2 separate regions of the Homo sapiens genome follow, and region 1 is linked to region 2. The links are contacts of gene promoters, found by promoter capture Hi-C in human tissues and cell types (Jung and others, 2019). All regions are on one chromosome and are shown on one strand. The core of a region is centred on a gene start or on the middle of the fragment in contact, and the rest is flanking DNA. Distances in the headings are between cores, read along the strand shown.

Region 1 (3,851 bases), core at 58-2,557, 48 kb after region 2:
ATGAGCCACCGTGCCCCGCTTCTTTTTGTTTTTAAACAGCATTTCAATATGAGTCGTATGAGAGTTAGTCCCTATTTGGTTTTGTTGCTGTCTTGGCATTCTTAAGCTTGCCTTGTTTACTTAAAATTGCTTAGGTCTTTGTACTTCTATTGTTACACATGTTAGTAATAATAAGCACATGTTAACCTTTAATTCTCTTACATTTTGATTTGGAGTGGTTGGTTTCAAAACCCAAATAAACTTTAAAAGGCCAAATTTTGAAAAATAATCTTATATAATGATGAAAATCAAATTTATTCTTTTATTATTTTTAAACCGTTCTCTTTTATACACACACACACACACAGACACACACACACACAACCGTTGGGTAAATTATTTACTGAATATCACCATTTATTAGCTTAAAGATTAGAATTATATTTGGTTTAAGTGTGTGTATTATATTTACTCAGTGTTTATTATAAAATGCCTCTGACCTGTTTTAATGACATTAATTAGAATCATCTATAGTAGTGTATGGAGTCTGAAAACTTTGCTTATAGTCAGTACTTCATGTCTGTCAGAGTGCATTTAATATTTGTTTAATTTGCTGAGAGTAAAGTGTGTTTAGATTATGTATATTGCATATGATTAAGGAATCGGGAAATATTTTTATTGGGAAACTTGCAATCTGTCGTTTTGCTGTTTTTTTGTTGCATATTGAAAAAATGCCAGTAAATCTTTGGATTGGGAAAGTTGAATGGCAAGAGGGGAAATGAAATATATTTAGCTTGAGAAAGTTGTGTTGTATTTTCTACTAAAGAGAAAGCTCACATTTAAAATTGTTGTATCCTTCAGCCTTTGCCATTTTCATGTCGCCCGTTGTATTGTACAAGTATGATGAATCTAGTACTATGCTTTACTGGATTTAGGAAAAAAGAAGAACTAGTAAGTATTACGAAACAAATTCAAAGCGTATTTTTTACAGCAAAATAAATTAAAATTGGCTTTTTTTTCTTTTTAGTATTATGGTTTTATTTTTAAAATATTGAAGGATAACTTATTATGGCTATACCAGATTTTAAATTTTCTGAAGAAACAAATCCTGAAGAGCCTTATAAAGAGACCAGTGTTTTGTCTAGGCTGGCTGATGTGAATTAATAGAAAGATTTCATAGCAATTCTGTTTGACTGTCTTGTTACCATATTGGCTACGTTGGTTATTTAAAGTTTTTGTTTATACATTGCAATTTCTTATTATGCAAGTTCAGCCTGAAAGTATTCTGTTGCCCTATAGAATTCATAGAAAGTTCCTTTTTTATTTTTATTTTATTTTTTTTGAGACAAGTCTTGCTCTGTCACCCAGGCTGGAGTGCAGTGGCGCAATCTCGGCTCACTGCAAACTCCGCTTCCCAGGTTCACACCATTCTCTTGCCTCAGCCTCCCGAGGAGCTGGGACTACAGGCGCCCGCCACCACGCCTGGCTAATTTTTTTTTGTATTTTTAGTAGAGATGGGGTTTCACCGTGTTAGCCAGGATGGTCTTGATCTCCTGACCTCGTGATCCGCTTGCCTCGGCCTCCCAAAGTGCTGGGATTACATGCGTGAGCCACCGCGCCCGGCCAGAAAGTTCTTTCTTTGGTTCACAATACTTTGTTGTTGGAACTGATGGGTATTACTCTGATTTTGTGGGAACAGTCTTGATGTGATAAAACTTGGTATTTTTTTAAAAAAACCAATATATTTACACAGTATGGTATTAAAAAGCAATATATTTAGGCCATAGGAAAGGCGGTTGTTTAACTTACATTTGTGTGAAATCTTTACTAATCCCACCTCTATAATTTTGCCTGTGTTAATAGGCAAACTAATCTTTTTTATACTTACTTTGACATAAAATTTAATAGCTTTATAAAAATCCCGTATGTATTTTATAAATAGAAAGTATTTAGCAAATGCTAAATGTGGGGTAAACATAGTTTAAAATTTTGTTCAAATTAACCATAAAGTCAGTGTTGCTTAATTTTTCTTTTGAGGTCAGGTTGGTGACATTGGTCCATCACATGGGTGGAGTTATTCGAAAAGACTTTAATTCAAAAGTTACACATTTGGTGGCAAATTGTACACAAGGAGAAAAATTCAGGGTATGTAAACTTGGGTATTTTTGTGTATTTCAATACAGCATTATTTTGGCATGGGTTTAATAATAGCAGTCTTTTATCTATTTCTTTCACAATTAAAGAAGAGAAACTCAATTTTTGCTATGAATATATTTAGTAAAAAATTTTAAATCATAAGAGTGGTTAAATTTTCTTTCTTTTCTTTTCTTTTCTTTTTTTTTAAATAGAGATGGGGTGTTGCTCTGTTACCCAGGCTGCTTTCGAACTCCTGGGCTTAAGTGATCCTCCTGCCTTGGCCTCCCAAAGTGTTGAGATTACATACGTGAGCCACCAGGCCTGGCCGAGTGGTTAAGTTTTAAGTAGGCAATGGAACTTGAGTGAGGTGTTGAAAGATGACTAGGATCGTGGGGGTTGGTAGATGAATAACATTGTAGGAATTGTGAAAGTAGGGAATTTACTCTTGTCTAAGTGCCTTTTTTTTTTTTTTTTTTTTTTTTTTGAGACTGAGTCTCTCTCTGTCACCCAGGCTGGAGTGCAGTGGTGCCATCTCGGCTCACTGCAAGCTCCGCCTCCTGGGTTCACGCCATTCTCCTGCCTCAGCCTCCCGAGTAGCTGGGACTACAGGTGCGCACCACCATGCCCGGCTAATTTTTGTAGTTTTCATAGAGACAGGGTTTCACCATATTGGCCAGGGTGGTCTCAAACTCCCGACCTCAGGTGATCTGCCTGCCTCGGACTCCCAAAGTGGTGGGATTACAGGCATGAGCCACTGTGCCTGGCTGTCTAAGTGCCCTTCATAAGAACAGAGCTCTGCTCTTATAAAGTGGTTCTAAGATTTAACTTGTGAATATTATAATAGGAGAAAATACTCTCACTAGGATTGAATCTTAGTTTAAGATTATAGTTGAATGTCTTAGCAAGAGTTTATCATTTTTTCTTAGTCTCCCTTAGTGTATTTGTGTAGCAAATGGTAATTTTAGTGTACTCTTCAATTTACCCTAAATATTTCAACTCATATCTAAGGTTTTAGTGACTTAGTCGGATGTCTTCTTCTGTAGTGCCATCTTGAGGGTCATACTTTCAAGGAAGTAAACGTGAAGAAAGGAGAAATAGAAATTTAATAAAGATGAACTTCAGAGATATATTTATTTAAAATAAGGAAACAGTTCGGACACCATGGAACTTGTTTTGAAGTTATTTTACCCTAACTTGTATGATTGGAAGATAGTTTGTCTGTTAATTTTTAAATTATTTTGTTACAAAGCAGATAGTGATCTAAAACTGCAAAAAATTAAGTATGTTAACTGTTTAGAACTTCCTTGAATGCAGTTATTTAAGGAGAAAATTCACTGTAATGTTTATATTTTTAGGTTGCTGTGAGTCTAGGTACTCCAATTATGAAGCCAGAATGGATTTATAAAGCTTGGGAAAGGCGGAATGAACAGTAAGTGTTTAGAAACTCAGTAGTTCATTATGTAAATTAAACATTCTGGTTTAAAGATAAATCCATGTGCTGAAAAAAGTAATTTCATAGATATAAAAACTGAATTCAGTCTGAGTAGCTTGAGGAATAAAATCTAGGGAGAACAAGTTATAAAAAATTATAAAAAATTAAAAATTGAAAGATATCTTTGATATCTTTGGATTTTACCTTGTGAAGTAATTTTGGCTATTATAAACATTCTGAAATTATTAGATAATAGCTAAATAATTCTGTGTATTTGGATTTTGTTACATATTTTTAAAATTTT
Region 2 (3,758 bases), core at 930-3,429:
AAAACTCAGGAAGATTTGAGGTGACACTGGAAAATTGCTTTATTGGGTAGAATATGTTTCCATCTGATCATAATGATCTTTCTGATATTTCACAATTTAGAGGAGAAGTGATAAGAGCCATTTTTCTGCAAATCCACTCCTGAGCCACAGTGTCAGGTGAGAACACTGGTTACCTCATCTATTGCTGACTTCAGGTTACACCCACTATCATTCCCAAGCACCACCTGAGGGTATACTCTGTGGAGGACCTTACACAGCCTTGTCCTTAATGGGCTGGCAAGCCTAGCTGGGAAAGAAAAGCTTTTCTCCAAACCTAGCTTGTCCGAGATTAACTTATGATGGAGAAGACTTCTTTGGTGACCTGAAAACTAAGAATAATCTCTGCAGCCAACACAGCAGTTTGATCTTTTTCCTGTTTTCCTCTGTTTAAGTTATTGTAGTAGACCATTAACCCACCCAGGTAAACATCACTGTTCCTCAATCTTTGAAGGGTATTACTTTCAAATTACATAATTTCATGGGGGAGGAGAGGGAATGCAAGGCTTCCTACAACAAGACTGACTTTCTTGACACCAGTGCTAAAGAAGGGGATGATCATTTTCACCATGTCAACATTATAGGAAGCAAGAGGAAAAGAAGGGGGGCAGGGGTCTATAGCTTCATAGACCTTTCCTAAGAGACAAAAGGGGCTTTGGAGGTGAGAATGTGGCTGAATTCAGGAAAAGCAAATCCACGCTAGGAATGTGCTGCAATATCCTAGTAAGGGGACTTTTCATAGGATAAAGCCCCACAGATTATGTAATCCTACACATAATGAGTGGACAGGGAACAGGAACATAAACCCTCTGGGAAAATCATGACTTTTTTAAAATCAGCTTTCTCAGGTTGAAATGATTTTTTTTCTCTTTCTCTAGTTGTCATTTCTGAAAGAAAGAGTTTATAAAAATATTCTGAGATTAAAGCCCAAGGTTGTGGGGAGGGAGGAGGCTTGGTTTTGGAGAAGGTTAGAGTTTAGATAGAGCAGGCTGCTCAGAAATACTGTCCAATCAGAGGGCTCAGCCTTGGCTGCAGACTGTAGTTTAGATTTTAGATTCTCTGACACTAAAAATAATGCCTCTTACCATGGAATAAACCAGAGACAGTTATATTTTCCTGTGTATGGAAGGAATGAACACACGCCCATGATACAGTGGAGAGAAATGTTACCCTCCCAGGTTAAGGCAGGTAACCTCGCTCAGGAAAAGGTTATCTGACAGCCAAGGACATAAAATAAATGCTGCAGGGCAAGCAGAAAACATGCATCATGCAAACCAGGGCTGCCGCCTCCTCACCTCCTTTCAGCCAGCCCAGCCTCCCAGTCCTCTTTCTTGGGCTGAGCTGAGATCTGCCTCGGGTGAAACGAGAGATCCCTATGGTTCCTCAAGTGCTTGGATGGAGAGCCCTGCCTGCTGTCTCCGGGAACGGAGCGCTCCACAGCCTGGGGACATTGCGAGACTGCCCTTGCCTGCTTCTGCTTCTAAGGTGGCTGCATTCCCAGGAACCAGAGCCTGCTTTTCCCGAGCTCTCCTAAAAATATTTATCCTCTGCCGGTCCCTATGGGAGAACGACAGTGTGAAGAAGGGTGGTTTATAAACTGCTTAAGGATTTGCCTTTTGACGTTGCAAACCAAGGAAGAGGAAGATATTTAGGACAGACGAAGGTTTAAACAGTTGTCAAATTCTATTCAAGCACTTCTTCCCCGTCACAAACGCAGACGGGGAAATGCAGATCTAGCCCGCTGCTAGCAAGGAGGCGAATGCGATACCCTGAAAATTCCCGACTGGACCACCTCAAAAAGCGACAGCCTCAATGCATTAGGAAAAACCTGCGTTTTCGTGGAACCCGGCGGAGGAATTTTGTATCCCCTTCAAATATTGCGTAAGAGGAGGAAGAGAGAAGCAGCGCTGGGCTGCACCTCACCACTTGCTGTGCACCCCGGAAAGTGGCGTCCAGCAGCATCAGCTTCCAGGGGTCGGACACGGAGCCAGGCAGCGGGATGTAGACGTAATAGGCGGCCAGCGCCACCAGGGCGGTGAGCAGGACACAGGACGACCTCATCTTGCCCTGGCTCGGCTCGCCAGCGGGCTGGCAAAGAGGAAAGGGCGATACCACCCGGAGACCTCCGGCAACTTTCTGCCCGCGGCAGCTGCTCATTCACGCGTTTCTTATAAGCCCAGGAGCCAATCAGAGGCTGCGTCGGGAGGAAGTTGGAGCGCGGACATGCCCCCTCTACGGTGTCCTTGCAAAGTGTGGCAGTCACTACAGGTTTGAGGAAGGCTCTGTCGCTGCTCTGGCCGTAGGCACAGCGGACTCTGGAGGACACTGGTTTGTACTGCATGCGTGTGAGGATGGCTTTCCTCCTGGAAGGTCTCAAACGGAAAATAGTTTCAGTGTGACGAGTCTCTGGACAAAGCAAGTGGGTCATTCTGACTCAGAGTACTGAGAAAGGATATAAAAATTCTGTTTTCTGGAGCCAGACTTGGAGTGGTTTGTAAGTTCTAGCTGATATATGGCAAAAGAAGATATTAAATTCTTCTGGCTCAAGCAATGAAAGGCCAGTAGTACATCTAGCACCCAAGTCTTGGTTTCTAAATCCTATGCTCCAATAAGAGGAACCACGGCTTTTTGACACAACCTCTGGAGAAAAGGCTGATACCAGGGCTGGGGCTGTAAAGTACAAGATGAACCTGTTGTGCCAGAGATGCGGAAGTGCTCAAAAAATGATAGGAACTGGTCAAAGGTCCACAGCTGCCAGCTTGAAGGGTCTCCCAGTGGCTGAAGCTGGGATAATTTTACCATCAATATAAATCATCATAATGGATAACCCATTGATTAAAATAAAACTCAACAATCTATATTAATATAAATAAATGAGGAAAGAAGAAAGGCTTTTCTTAAAATAGAATGCCAGCTAGTATCCATAGAAAATCATAAATGAATGCTAAAACTAGAGGGTAAAAATTTGACACAGAATTTTGGTCCTTCATCAGAAGATCTCTCCACAAATTACTACAAAGGGAAAAAATAATAACTTTTTATTGGAGAAACGTGTGGATATCACCTGAAAAATTCTTTCAGTGAGTCAATGGTAGCAGAAATACACTTAAACCCAGATTTCTTGTTAATGATTGGGGGTGAGGAGGGGTGGGTGAGTACTGAATGGGAGAGAGAAAACTTCACTAGCAAAATTTCAACCAGAAATCCAGAAGGAAAACAGTTAGAAGACCTGTTTCAAGAAAGTGGTAGGATGACAACTCCAAACTTATTGATGAAGGTCTTAAAACACCTAGTATATATAATTATGCATCTTAAGATGGTAATTTTAATTTAATCAAATTAATAGAAGTGAAATAACCATAAATTTGGTTCTGATAATGAGATTTTTAGGAAACAGTTGGCTTCTTCTTCAACATTGAAGGAAAACTGATAAGAAGGGCACACTTTCATGGTATTTCAAGCAAGTTCTCTCTCTCTTTTTTTTTTGTTTTGTTTGTTTTTGGTGTTTGTTTTTTGTTTTTTTTGAGACGGAGTCTTGCTCTTTTCGCCCAGGCTAGAGTGCAATGGCACGATCTCAGCTCACTGCAACCTCCACCTCCTGGGTTCAAGCAATTCTCTTGCCTCAGCCTCCTCAGTAGGTGGGATTACAGGTGCCCACCACCACACCTGGCTGATTTTTGTATTTTTAGTAGAGATGGGGTTTCACCATGCTGGCCAGGCTG

Evidence for each region. The method cuts DNA at HindIII sites, captures the fragments that hold promoters and counts their contacts. A contact is called where the count stands out against the background at its distance.
Region 1: a fragment that was not itself captured here is called in contact with the fragment with the promoter of NCEH1 in region 2 in 1 of the 25 tissues and cell types used here (neural progenitor cells).

What each region holds. Positions count from the first base shown.
Region 1 is chr3:172,758,140-172,761,990 of GRCh38, forward strand. ECT2 (epithelial cell transforming 2) reads left to right here. Exons shown (of 25, transcript NM_001258315.2): 6 at 841-930; 7 at 2,017-2,124; 8 at 3,471-3,544. Among named protein-coding and RNA genes, the nearest start is that of ECT2, 9.3 kb to the left of the region's middle. The HindIII fragment of the contact is 4,962 bases long and covers 1-3,788 here.
Region 2 is chr3:172,708,888-172,712,645 of GRCh38, forward strand. It overlaps NCEH1 (neutral cholesterol ester hydrolase 1), which reads right to left and starts at 2,180. Exons shown (of 5, transcript NM_020792.6): 1 at 1,960-2,180. The coding sequence starts at 2,097. RefSeq lists enhancers at 1,632-2,831, 1,961-2,230, 2,152-2,446, 2,491-2,630. The HindIII fragment of the contact is 21,212 bases long and covers 1-3,758 here.